Linked DNA regions of Homo sapiens: region 1 is linked to region 2. The links are contacts of gene promoters, found by promoter capture Hi-C in blood cells and fetal thymus (Javierre and others, 2016). All regions are on one chromosome and are shown on one strand. The core of a region is centred on a gene start or on the middle of the fragment in contact, and the rest is flanking DNA. Distances in the headings are between cores, read along the strand shown.

Region 1 (3,557 bases), core at 1-2,500, 9.4 Mb after region 2:
CCCGGCCTCAGATCAGCACCAGAAGCACATTCTCACACAAGTCAGCCACACTACTAGCTGCTCAGAACGAGGCCCTGGACAAAACCTGGTGGCACAGGGTTTTGTGATCCCACTGCGGAAAAGTGACACTCTCACCAGTGATGGGCTGGAGCTCCACGAGGGCGGAGGAGAGAGTGCTGCTGAGCACCTGGTACTGAGTTACAGCAACTTGCGCATTCCGGCTGCGCCGCACTTTCACCATTTTCCCATCGTCCATGCGGTAGCTCGGGGACAATGTCATCTGAAGCCAAAGAAATCAAGATATGATTCCCAAGGAAGAGCAGCAACCCATGCCTCAGGGAGGCTGCTCGCTCACCTTGTGGTGTTGCTGCTGGCCTTGCGCCTCCTTCTCCACAATGGGGATGTCCACGACTCCTGCTGAGGGCATGGGGACATGCACAGTGATGGCCCTGGGGGTGACACAGATCACTGCTTTAGCCAACCAAGCCAGAGAAGAACTCCTAGATTTGGCCACTTAGAGGATTTCACGCTGGACCTTCTGCACTAACATGTGATTTCTTATGATTGAAGGATCGTGCAAGATTCTCTTGGTGTAATGCTTAGCCTGAGAGCTGATAGATTTCACAAGCTTATCTTTTTTACTACTAAAGTCATACATGCTAATTGTAGAATATTTGGGGTAAAAAAAGAAAAAAATTACATTAATAACATGGTCTTTCCAGTCTTTAAAAATGGATATGTACAGTTAAAATAAAATTATGGTAATATAGTTTTGTATTTTTTTTCAAATAATAAAAGATTGTAGATTCTGACTGCATGGTAAATGAACAAATGAATAATTGGATGAATGAACCTAATAAAACATTCAGAGAACCGTTCCTGGCTCATTTGCCACATAGGTAAAACAGGAGGGAACTGTACCCGAAGAAGTCACAGGGGACAGGCGTGGTGGCTCACACATGTAATCCCAATACTTTGGGAGGCCAAGGCGGGTGGATCACTTCAGGTCAGGAGTTCAAGACCAGCCTGGCCAACATGGTGAAACCCCATCTCTACTAAAAATACAAAAAAAAAATCAGCCAGGCGTGGTGGCGCGTGCCTGTAATTCCAGCTACTTGGGAGGCTGAGGCATGAGAATCGCTTGAATCCAGGAGGTGGAGGTTGCAGTGGGCCAAGATTATGCCACTGCACTCCAGCCTGGGAGACACAGCAAGACTCCGTCTAAAAAAAGAAAGAAAGAAGTCATAGGTACCACAACCACAACTCAATAACTCATTCCAAATCACTTCTGTTGGTGTTCTCCCTCCCATGACCTCATGACCTCACAGACAGGTAGAAGACTGTTTAATCTGTCTGTAAATTTATGCCTCTTTCAGGTCAATGATGGAAAAGTCCATCTGGGTACCTGGTGGTCGGTTGTATAATCACTAACCACGGGGTCAAAATCCTACTCACACACACTATTTCACAACGCAGACACTCCACTTCAGTTTCAGCTACTATCTGGTACATTTTATCGTATTTTACAGATTTTGTAGATCTTCTGTGACAAGAATGTCCTTCCTAATGATATGACACTACAACTCAAGAATGTTCCATCAGCAAGACCCAACTGATTGATTTCAATTCCTCCATGAACCTGATACCGAGAATGGTTACCAATTTTGAACCTTAATGGACATTTTTCACAAATAACATAACATGTATTTTATAGTCTTAATATTTTGATTGCTTGAATAGAAAAATAAGTCTCTATTTTTTATTTTTTAACTTTTCCTATGAACTAGGTACTGTGTTAAACATTTCACAAGAATCAATCTTATTTAACTATCTCATAAATCCTACTGTTTCCATTTTTCAGATGAAGAAAACAAAGCTTATGGACATTTAATAACCTGCCCAAGGCCCCACAGCTGTTAAATGACACAGTTGAGAGTTGAACACACATCTTTTTGAGGTCTTAGCTACTGTCCTAAATTCCTCCATTCTCCATAATCTTATCATAGTTCTTAAATTTGATTGTATATCAAATTTTAAAATACAGATGCCAATCCCCACAACCACCACACTTACGAATGAGAACTTCTGTGGGTAAGTCTCAATCATACATATTTTTAAAGGGCTCCTCAGATTCACAAAGTATCTGCAAAATCTGTAATCTAAAAAGGACTAACATTCAAAATATAAAATGAATACTTACAAATCAAATAGAAAAGAATAAACAACCTGGGCCAGACACAGTGGCTCACGCCTGTGAGCTGTAAGCGCTGTAATCCTAGCACTTTGATGGACAGATCACTTTAGGTCAGGGGTTCAAGACCAGCCTGGCCAACAGGCTGAAACCCCATCTCTACTAAAAATACAAAAATTAGCTGGGCATGGTGGCATGTGCCTGTAATTCCAGCTAGCTGAAACATGAGAACCACTTGAACCAGGGAGGAGGTTGCAGTGAGCCAAGATTGTGCCACTGCCCTCCAGCCTGGGTGACACAGCAAGACTCCATCTCAAAAAAAAAAGGCCAGGCACGGTCTTAAATAAAAAAAAATAATAATAATAAACAACCCTGTAGAAAAATAGGCAAAAGAAATAATCAGTCTGTTCCCAAAAGGGAAACTCAAATAGCCAATAAACATGTAAAAAACATGTAAATTGATAGCCAATATCACTGTTATACAAGGAAATAGAAAATATCTTTTTTTTTTTTAACTTATCACAGTGGCAAACCCTTTAAAAATGCTTTGGCTGATAAGGGGAGGTGGGTACTCACCACTGCTGGTGGGAATGTAAACTGATAAAAAACCTTTGTGGAGAGCAATGTGAGTACTATTAAAATTTAAATATACAAACCATTCAGCCCAGCGATTCAATTTTTAGAAATTTATCTTAAAAATACATTCACATATTCTTTGCAATAGGCTCTAAAAAATGAGAAATTACCTAAATATCCATCCATACAGCGGTATTTCACAGAGCAATTAAAAAGGAGACAGCTCTAAACGTATGACACAAAATGCTCTAAGATATATGATCCAAGTGAAAACTGTAGGGTACAAAACTCTGTGTGAAATACACTAGCATACAGTAATATGCTTATATATGCTCGATAACTCTGGAAGTTTACAGAAGACACCAGTCACAGCGATTGACGCTGGGGAAGGCAACTGCACAGATGGGGAATAGAGGGTTTCTTTTTTGCTCACGCATCTTTTTTCTATGAAAAACACTGAGGTAAACCTCTATGTGCTAACACAGGATGATCCCCAAGACATAGAGGTGAGCAGAGGAAAAAAGTATAATGTAAATTGTACAATGTGATATATATATAGATATATATGTGTACATACATATGTACACATGCATATACTGCATACACCAGACACGCATATACTGCGTACACCAGACACGCATATTCTGCGTATGCCGGACACGCGTATACTGCGTACGCCGCACACGCGTATACTGTATACACTAGACATATATGTAAATGCGTTGAGTAAGAACCAGAGGAAAAAAAACCAAACTGATTACATGGGTTGTTACCTCAAGAGAAAACACTA
Region 2 (4,075 bases), core at 1,497-3,996:
ATCAAAAAGAGTCATTCTAGGATACCAGCATAAAAACATTTATCTATTGGTTTTAAAATAAAGTTCAAAATCCTACAGGATCCTGCATGGTCCAGTCTTTGTCTACAAGGTCAACTTCATCTCCTACTGCTACTTCCTTGGTTGAACACCTCCCTGGTCATCCTTTGGTGCTTAGAAAGGAGCCAAGTTCCTATCACATCAGTTTTCACATATGCAGTTCCTTCCCTCTGCCTGATCTACTCTTTTCAATCTTTTTCTTTTTTTTTTTTTTTGAGACGGAGTCTCGCTCTGTTGCCCAGGCTGGAGTGCAGTGGCACGATCTCAGCTCACTGCAAGCTCTGCCTCCCGGGTTCACACCATTCTCCTGCCTCAGCCTCCTGAGTAGCTGGGACTACAGGCGACCACTGCCACGCCTGGCTAATTTTTTGTATTTTTAGTAGAGACGGGGTTTCACCGTGTTAGTCAGGATGGTCTCGATCTCCTGACCTCGTGATCCGCCCGCCTTGGCCTCCCAAAGTGCTGGGATTATAGGCGTGAGCCACCGCGCCCGGCCCTAGTCTTTTTCTTTTTTGAGACAGGGTCTCACACTGCTGCCCAGGCTGGAGTGCAGGGACACCATCATGGCTCCCTGCAGCCTTGACTTCCCGGGGTTAAGTTATTCTCCCTACTCAGTCTCCCAAGTAGCTGGGACTACAGGCATGTGCCACTGTGCCTGACTACTTTTTTGTATTTTTTGTAGAAACAGGGTTTCACCATGTTGCCCAGACTGGTCTCAAACTCCTAGATGCAAGCAATCCACCCGCCTTGGCCTCCCAAAGTGCTAGGAAACTCTTTCTCATTCCAGGAAACTCTTCCTCATTCTTCAGGTCCTAACACAAATTTAACTTCCTTTGGCAAACTTTTCTTGACTGCTTCACCCAATTCCCTCACCATCCCACACTCACTCAAGACTAAGAACCCTTGTTAAAAACTCTTGGAATACTTTCATTGCATTTATCATAAAGAAAATATATCGATTAGTTGTGTAATTAGTTGCTTAAAGCCTGTATTCCCATTAATCTATAAGCTCCACAAGAACAGGGACTATGTTTTTTTTGTTCACAGAGGCATCCTCAACACCCTACAGTAACTGGAATACGAAATATTCAATAAATGTTTGTTACGTGGATAAACTATATAGCTGAGCCCAAATAATAACAATGACTGCCATGATGTGAAGTTATTCAAAAAGCCAGGGTCACTTAATGCAATCCCTCTAATCACAACCACCACTTAATAAAACCATTATTATTATTATTCTCATTTTAAAGATAAGGAAACTGCAGCTCAGTGAGATGAAACACCTTGCCCAAGGGTACACAGCCTATAAAGTGGCACAGCTAGGATTCGAACTCTGACCAGTGCTGCTCCAACACTCAAGCTACTTTCATCACATGGCACTGCCTCCAAAGGATCCACACAAGTCAGCGAGGCAGAAAGACGAAGACAATAATAAGGCAAGCACCAAACCAGAAAAGAACTTGGACTAGTTCTTTAGAACAATGTGACTTCACTGGGTATCTCAGTGCCTTAGGGTTACTGTAACAAAGTACCACAAATTGCGTGGCATAAAACAACAGAAACTCTCTCGCAGTTCTGGAAGCTAGCAATCTGAAATCCAGGTGTCTGCAAGGCCATCCTCCCTGGAAAGTCTCTAGCAGAGAATCTTTCCTTGCCTCTCCCAGCTTCTGGTAGCCCCAAGCATACCTTGGCTTTTGGCAACATAAATCCAATCCAATCTCAGCCTTCATCTAGACATGGTCGTTTTTCCTTTGTTGCTGTGTCTGTATCCATACTTCCCTCTTTTTAAAAGGCAAACAGTCATCTTGGATTTGGCACCCACCTTAATCAAGTATGACCTCATCTTAACTGATTACATCTCCAAAGACCCTATTTCTAAATGTCACATTCTGTGGTTCTGGGTGGAAAACGATTTGGTAGGGCCCACTACACTGGGCCACAAAGTTGTCCCATATGAAAATAATACCCACTTCATGGTAGTGTGGTGAGGCTTAAATAAACTTATATATGTTTAAATTTCTTATAATGGTGCCTGGCAAGAAAAGTATAACTATATAAATGTTAGCTTCTCACGTTAGGACTATTACTAAGAGTAACAGGAGGTGATCAAAGGTCTCTGATTCAGAACCAAGTCCTTGGGATCTGGGAATCCCCACAGGCAGGTACCGGGCCCTAAAGATCCAAGCACAGAGGCTTTGAATCCGCTCCATTATTCTCGAGGCACAATATTCATTCTCTATGGGAGAGGACGGAAGTCTACCAAGGCGGGAAAAGAGTAATCAAAGTTACACCCCGGCTTTAACGCACTGACGCTACTGCTCAGAGGCTCGAGATGTAAGCGGGGCGGCAGAGGCAAGGCGGGGGGCCTCAAGCGATGTGAGTGGGGCCCTGAGCATGAGCAGGGGTCGGCGGAGAAGCCGAGAGACCCGCCAAGAGGGAAGGAACTGCCGGGCGGCCGAGGGCGGAGTTGGGAAGGGGTGGCTAGACGTCGCAGGCCCCGCCCCGGCCGGTACCAACTCACCCCTTGCCGCCGGCCCCGCCAGGCTTCGGCCGCTTTTTGCGACGCTTGCGACCGGACTCAGATCCCCGGTCGACGCCGGCATCTGCCCCGGACAAGTAACGCTTCAGATACTCGGCCTTGGAAAGCGGCGGAGCTGCCGCCATGGCAGCGGCGGGGGCAGAGAGACGGGTCGGCGCTGGGGACAAAATGCCTCAACGCGTAACGGACGCCAGCCACCCGACAGGGCGGGGCCACGGCCGGAAGTGGCGGAGAGTGCTAAGAATCGCGCGGCTGGCAGGTGCGGCCACCGGGACGCGCTCGCAGGCTAGCCAGGGACGTGCGCACCTTCGGGGCGCTCCACAGCCCTGGGACGACGCCACCAGGTTTCTTCTCTTCATTCACTCACCCACCCACCCACCCATCCATCCAACCGCAGCAAGCGCTGTTCTATGAGGCCACAACCTGACCCAAAGGACCCCGCCCCCATCGGCCGCCTAAACTCCAGAGCACGAGCAAGAAAGTGGAGGGCCACGGGCTGCAGCGTAGCCGAGTTTGAATACTGGTTCCATAGCTGGCTAGCTGTACGACCTCGGGCAAGTTATCACAAAACAGGGAGAATCCCGGCACCTAACTCGGAACGGTCACAGGCTGAGATGATATTACTGTGTGAAGTGCGCAGAGCGGTGTTGGGCACATGGTCATCGGAACTATGTTCGTTATTTTTATAAGTATCTTTAAGTGGGGGGAATCTGCTCCACTAGGCTTCCAGGTACCTACCGTCCAAGAAAGGAAGCCAGGAAGTGCAAACCAACATAATTACTATGAAAAACGTAGTTTCTAAGACCTGTGTAACTCTTCTAGTGTTCTATTACAAGTAGCCCCCAGTTATCTCTTGAAGGAAACTGTAAAACAATCTTGCCAATGAGAAGGACGGACCTGGATCATTTTTTAGCATAGTAAAAGAGAGAAACCAGAGAGAATGAATTCTAACACTCAAGTTTTGGGGGGAAAGAAAAGACTTTATTCTTTGCAGGGGGTTTAGAGCTTTACCTGAATTATCTCATTTAACCCTCACAATTCTCAAATCGTTTCATTATCATATTTTACAGATAAGAACTGAAGCGTGGCAAGATTAAGGAAGTTGCTCAACTTCACATAGTCAGAACATGACTCTAGGGAGTAGAGGCTAGCGAAGTGGGGTGCAAGAGGTCATCCAAATTTCTTGAAATACCAGATCTTTTTACCTCATCATATATGTTAGATTGTCAGTTTTATCGTTTTCTTCCCAGCTTTATTATTTGACAAAAAATTATATATATTCAAGGTGTACAATGTGATGACTGGATATAATTATACATTGTGTAATGATTACCAAAATCAAATTAAGTAAAACATCCTTCACTAATTTATGTAGTAGTTCGGTGGGGGGGCACTTAAGCAAATTTGTCTTAGCAAACTTCAAGTAAACAATACAGAATTATTAGCTATAGTCAACATGTTGTACATTAGATTCCC

Evidence for each region. Contacts are between HindIII fragments. The CHiCAGO score rates a contact against its expected background, and 5 or more counts as called.
Region 1: a fragment that was not itself captured here is called in contact with the fragment with the promoter of BUD13 in region 2 in 1 of 17 cell types (naive CD8 T cells); the score reaches 5.4 in naive CD8 T cells.

Annotation. Positions count from the first base shown.
Region 1 is chr11:126,205,333-126,208,889 of GRCh38, forward strand. RPUSD4 (RNA pseudouridine synthase D4) reads right to left here. Exons shown (of 7, transcript NM_032795.3): 4 at 356-449; 5 at 136-280. Among named protein-coding and RNA genes, the nearest start is that of RPUSD4, 4.5 kb to the right of the region's middle. The HindIII fragment of the contact is 1,248 bases long and covers 627-1,874 here.
Region 2 is chr11:116,770,241-116,774,315 of GRCh38, forward strand. BUD13 (BUD13 spliceosome associated protein) reads right to left here and starts at 2,747. Exons shown (of 10, transcript NM_032725.4): 1 at 2,582-2,747. The coding sequence starts at 2,724. It overlaps ZPR1 (ZPR1 zinc finger), which reads right to left. Exons shown (of 14, transcript NM_003904.5): 14 at 3,559-4,075. BUD13-DT (BUD13 divergent transcript) reads left to right here and starts at 3,231. Exons shown (of 2, transcript NR_186226.1): 1 at 3,231-3,271; 2 at 3,670-3,965. RefSeq lists a silencer at 2,886-3,085 and an enhancer at 3,206-3,295. The HindIII fragment of the contact is 6,866 bases long and covers 1-4,075 here.